Regions from separate parts of the Homo sapiens genome. Here region 2 is linked to region 1. The links are contacts of gene promoters, found by promoter capture Hi-C in blood cells and fetal thymus (Javierre and others, 2016). All regions are on one chromosome and are shown on one strand. Each heading gives the region's core, a stretch centred on a gene start or on the middle of the fragment in contact. The rest is flanking DNA. Distances are from core to core; before and after follow the strand shown. Region 1 holds the start of IL10RB (interleukin 10 receptor subunit beta). Region 2 holds the start of DNAJC28 (DnaJ heat shock protein family (Hsp40) member C28).

Region 1 (2,700 bases), core at 183-2,682:
CGCGCCTGTAATCCCAGCTCTTTGGGAGGCTGAGGAAGGTGAATCACCTGAGGTCAGGAGTTCGAGACCAGCCTGGCCAACATGGCGAAACCCCATCTCCAATAAAAATACAAAAATTAGCCAGGCGTAGTGGCACACACCTGTAATTCCAGCTACTCGGGAGGCTGAGGGAGGAAAATCGCTTGAACCCGGGAGGCGGAGGTGGCAGTGAGGCAAGATCAAGCCACTGCACTCCAGCCTGGGCCACAGCAACAGAGCAAAACCCTGTCTCAAAAAAAAACAAAAAAACAAAAAAACAAACAAACAAAAAAAAAAACGGAAGAAGAAAGAAAGAAAAGAAAATTTGAAACCTACATGCAAGTAGAAAAGTAGAAGACTATAATAAACCACCACCCATCACCCAACTGGTACCAAGAGAGATATAAATGTGCGAGTCATGGGCCTATAGCCCGTGTTTAATGCCAGGGTTTGGCTGAAATCCCCCAAAGGAACAGTGCCAGGGAAGGAGAGAAAAGGCCTTGGGCATCACAATTAGCTACATAGAAACCTGACAGAGCAGGAGGGTCCCAAGCAGAGACAGCCTGACAGGGCGGGAAACCGGAGGGGTATCCCGGAAGGCCAGGGAAGAGTTCATGAGAAAGGAAGGAGGTGACCATGGTGTTATTGGAACCTAGGCAGTCAATTTAGAGGACAGAAAAGGTTTCAATGGATTTAGGTTTAGAAGCCATGGAGCTGGGGCGCTGGGGGACAGAATCCAGATTTCAGGGTGCTCGGGCCTGAACCGGAAGGAGGGGAGGTGCAGCGGGTGATGGGAGGCACATCTGTAGGGAGGGCTGGCACTGAGGGGGCAGACTTGGGGTCAGGGAGGGCTGTCAGGGCACTCGGGGACTGGTGGGGGCCTCCACTTGAACTGATAGTCTCCAGAAGGGTCAGATGACAGCCACGGTGGGATCTTGGGTCTTTTGGGGAAGCTACTTTATTTAGACGCCCGCCAGCAGAGAGCTGCAGGAGGACAGGGAATCAAAAGACGCCGGGAGTCTCCCCCTGAGTTTAGGGCCCAGACGGTCTGTAATCCGGGCGCGGATGGGGCTTTCTCCTGTTACAGAATCGACGGCAGCAGCAGCCTAGTTGCGTCTCAGCAGCCGGCCGTGGCGTTTGCATCTTCTCTCCCGAGGCCCCGAAGGCTCTTAAGTCACTTGCAGGGCGCCCAGGGATGGGATCAGGGGCGGCATCTCGCGGGGCCTCCCGGTTCCCAAGCGCGCCCCCTCCCCGCGGACCCCTCACCTGACACCAGCAGGCAGCCACCCAGCCAGCTCCCAAGGCTCCACGCCATGGACGGACGCTGGGGGTTCCGCGGCTTCCTCCAAGCACACGACCCCCGCCCGCGCCCGGGAGAGCTTGTCCGCGGCGGCTTCCGGGAACCAGCGGAGATGGGCGGGGCGGGGTGGGGAGGGGCCGGGCGACCGGGCTCCCACCCCGCTGCAGGCCCCGCCCACCAGCCCGGGTCCACCCGCGAGGCGCGGGGCACAGGCTTGGCAGATGCACACGAGGAAGAGGAAGGGATCCTCGCAAGCTTTGAAAGGCGCCGTCAAGTCAAATAAATAAATGCCCTACAACACCAACCCAGGACTGAGATCTGCATGCTGGAATGACGGTGGTGGTGGTGGCTTTCAGTATTCCCCAGGTTTTGTCCGGAGCACCGGCACGCCCTCTCTTGAAGTCCGCTCTCCGCACAGGTGAGTTAAAAGCACTTCAGCAGCAAATCCAGTTTGAGGGTCTTCTTTACCCTTCTCCCCAGGGATAAACAACACAAAACCAAGTCATCTTTACGCAAATAACTAGTTTCTTTCAGAGACTACTAAGAAAGCGTTAATTTCCTCTTTTTAACTTGATTAGTGGTTAGACGGGAAGATCCGGAGCTGTCCAGTGTCTTGGGTAATGCACGGCATCGCCTGATGTCTGACGCTAGAACACCACGTAAAGTCAAGCAGAGGGAAGTGAATGCGCCCTAGGCCCCTGCAGGCCACCAAGAAGAGCTAGAGGGAGTTGGTGCAATCCTAGAGATGCCGGCAGGTGCACCAATCTGTGGCACACGTACGCTCTCCAATGGAAGACAACTCAAGACCACACCAAGTTTGTATTAAAAAAGTACTGTTGTGTTACTTTTTACCAACCTCCAATCATTATACAAAATGTTAAAAAATACACAAACACACACACACACTCACAGCCATAGAGGTTATCGCAAAAGATCAACCCAGAATCTTTCAGAATATGACAGATGCACTGAGAAGGCAGATAAATTGATTCAATATACAAAAGGCCTCTTTCCTATGGAATTTCATTAGATTAAATAAGGTGTTCCCTCCTCACAGCCTCATCCTTATGAGCAATCATATAAATAATCTATTTAAAGTCCTTGAACTATAACTTGTATAATTTTTAGTTTTCCCCCTTTGAAGGGGCCTAAGAGAAAGGTTTGAGAAACCAGCTCTTGAGGGGGGCAGGGGTGAGGGGTAAGAGGTCCTGTGCCTTTCATTCATCCTGGGAGCTTCTCAGGATTGCAGCATTTCCACCTGAGTGTTCATTCTTGTACATTTTCTCATCTTTCTCCTGGGTTCCTAGGATCTTGGAGATTACCTAGTCCAATCCTTTTACTTCAGAAACAAAAAACCTGAGGCTCAGAAAGGCTAAGTCAAA
Region 2 (2,700 bases), core at 182-2,681, 230 kb before region 1:
ACAGGCGCCCGCCACCACACCTGGCTAATTTTTTGTATTTTTAGTAGAGACGGGGTTTCACCGTGTTAGCCAGGATGGTCTCGATCTCCTGACCTCGTGATCCGCCCGCCTCGGCCTCCCAAAGTGCTGGGATTACAGGCGTGAGCACCGCGCCCGGCCAGAAATCCTATTTTCTTTCACATGAGTTATTTTGTTGATTGTTTGCTTATAACTAAAGCCCTCAGAATCAGAGTTTATACTGTATCTTTTTCTGTGTTCCTACATAGATGGCAATAAATGATTCTAATGTTTATGATGTAGAAGCTGAGGAGGCTAATACCTATTTCTGGCTCCTTTTAGGAGACACAGTCATAACAAAAAATATTGCTTAATGTGCGAGGCACAGTGCCAAGTGGTTTACATACATTGTGTAATTCTCCCCCTAAAAAAGTCAATGAAGTTGATACAATTATTATTTCATTATATGTAAAATAGGGAAAATAACAGCATTTATCTCAGAGGGCTGTTGTAAAGATTAAATGAATGCCTGTAATCCCAGCACTTTGAAAGGCCGAGGCAGGCAGATCACCTTAGCTCAGGGGTTCGAGACCAGCCTGGCCAACATGGTGAAACCTGGTCTCCACTAAAAATACAAAAAAATTAGCTGGGCATGGTGGTGCGCGCCTGTAATTCCAGCTACTCGGGAGGCTGAGGCAGGAGAATAGCTTAAACCCGGGAGGTGGAGGTTGCAGCGAGCCGAGATCGCGCCACCACACTCCAGCCTGGGCGACAGAGCGAGACTCTGTCTCAAAAAAAAAAAAAAAAAAGTAAATGAGAATATACATAAAGCACTTAGCACAATGGCATACTATTTACTATAGTTTACTATTTATTGCAACTCTCATTTTGCAGGTATCTTGCCTAAGGTGCAAGCAGAAGAAACAGGATTTTCAACCCAGATCTGAAAACTCCCAAGCCTCTGCCTTTTTCTTTTTATCCTTTTTCTTTTTCCTTGTTAAAAAACTTGCTTCCTGTACAGAGAGGGGAAATGCTCAGTCCCCACGTCAGTGGTTGAACTCCAAGCCAGAAGATCCCTATTTTGATTTTGTCCTCTGGCCTGTCGCCAGCCCCTCAACAGTACTTGAATTAATAAAAGGGCAGGTTTTAAGCCTCATGTATCTGCGCAGGTGACTCCTTCTGTGACCCCGAATAAACCTGTTCCGGTCCCGTTCCGGGGAAACAGCCTTGCCTTCCCCTGCCCCCAGAAAGTTACCCTCGCCCTCCGAGCCACAACTCCCCACGCCGCCAACTCGGTCTTTACATCATTTTCGACGCCCCCTAAGTCCCTCCCGAGAGGCGCAGGCGCACATCGCCCCTTCTAGCGAACTACATCTCCCACAATCCCAATCGGCCGGACCACCTCCGCTCGGGGCGGGGACGGAGGTGGAGCTGGTGGTCCCCGGTCGGGACGAAGGCTCCCGAGGTGCCCTGCCTGGGTCCTCCGGGGTAAAGTTCGTTTGGCGGAAGATTGTCCGTTTTCCTGGTAAGGTCACCTGTCCCAATCAGGTACGATTCTGCCTTCCGTACCCCCGAGCCCCTCAGTGTAAAGTGGCAAATGGTCTAGCCCGGCGGAGGCACCAGCTGGAGGCGGTGGGAGGGACACCCGCAGTGAAGGGCGGACCGCGCACGCATGCGCAGAGGCGCGGCAGGGGGGCGGGAGCCGCGGAACCCCTACCCCAGGTCTGCGCAGGTGAGGAGGGGGCGGGGCAGGACCGACCTCCCTTGCCATGATAACCACCTTCGCAGCCGGCTCCCAGACCGTTGGCACCGATTGCCTAGAAAATAGGGGGTCTCAGGAGCTCCGTTTTAGCGTTTATATATCCCAATTCCAATTAAGCCACTTCCAGTATTTTTTGGCCATTGTCAGTGTACAAGTCTTCCTCCTCTTCGAGACCATGTTATTGCAATAGCAGCAAACGTGTTGGGAGGCCTCACAATTCATCATGGTTTTTCTGGCCTCTGGCAGATAGCTCCTTCCTAGCGAGCTGTGGAGCTTAAAGTCTTTTGGACACTTGATTCTATTCAATCCAGTATCAGACCAGGTACGTACCTTGTCCATAAGTCGTCTTATGAGAAGACTTCTTGAGATGATGCAGACTCTCGTGCAGTTTATAATCGGCTGGAGGTATAGACAGTTAAGCAAGCCTCCTTTTTTACTGTGCCCACCCCTAACCATTTTGCTTACACCTTGTTATGGGACTTGGTTAAATTGCTTAACCTTCCGGACCTACGTTTTCTCATTAAATGAGAAGATTGGATTAGATGATCTCTAAGAACTTTCCACTTGTAAAATATACGGTTAGTTAGTGAGGGGTAGAATCCAGATTCTATCTATCTATATTTTTTTGAGACAGAGTCTCACTCTGTTGCCCAGGCTGGAGTGCAGTGGCACGATCTCGGTTCACTGCAACCTCCACCTCCCGGGTTCAAGCGATTCTCTTGCCTCAGCCTCCCGAGTAGCTGGGACTGCAACCTCCAGTTAATTTTTGTATTTTTAGTAGAGACAGGGTTTTGCCATGTTAGCCAGGCTGATCTCGAACTCCTGACCTCAGGTGATCCACCCACCTCGGCCTCCTAAAGTACTGGGATTACAGGCGTGTGCCACCGTGCCTGGCCCCACAATATGTTAACACTAAACTTCATCAGCTTCCACTTTTCTGC

The links. Contacts are between HindIII fragments. The CHiCAGO score rates a contact against its expected background, and 5 or more counts as called.
Region 2: a contact is called between the fragment with the promoter of DNAJC28 here and the fragment with the promoter of IL10RB in region 1, in 11 of 17 cell types (total B cells, M0 macrophages, neutrophils and 8 more). The highest score is 12.4, in total B cells.

Annotation. Positions count from the first base shown.
Region 1 is chr21:33,265,099-33,267,798 of GRCh38, reverse strand. It overlaps IL10RB (interleukin 10 receptor subunit beta), which reads right to left and starts at 1,432. Exons shown (of 7, transcript NM_000628.5): 1 at 1,285-1,432. The coding sequence starts at 1,333. All of the region lies in intron 7 of IFNAR2-IL10RB (IFNAR2-IL10RB readthrough), which reads right to left. IFNAR2 (interferon alpha and beta receptor subunit 2) reads right to left here. Exons shown (of 9, transcript NM_001289125.3): 9 at 2,135-2,700. It overlaps IL10RB-DT (IL10RB divergent transcript), which reads left to right and starts at 1,539. Exons shown (of 2, transcript NR_038974.1): 1 at 1,539-1,736; 2 at 1,897-2,167. RefSeq lists a silencer at 1,177-1,586 and enhancers at 1,757-1,826, 1,857-1,916. The HindIII fragment of the contact is 8,663 bases long and covers 1-1,575 here.
Region 2 is chr21:33,490,447-33,493,146 of GRCh38, reverse strand. It overlaps DNAJC28 (DnaJ heat shock protein family (Hsp40) member C28), which reads left to right and starts at 1,431. Exons shown (of 2, transcript NM_001040192.3): 1 at 1,431-1,545. The HindIII fragment of the contact is 6,958 bases long and covers 1-2,700 here.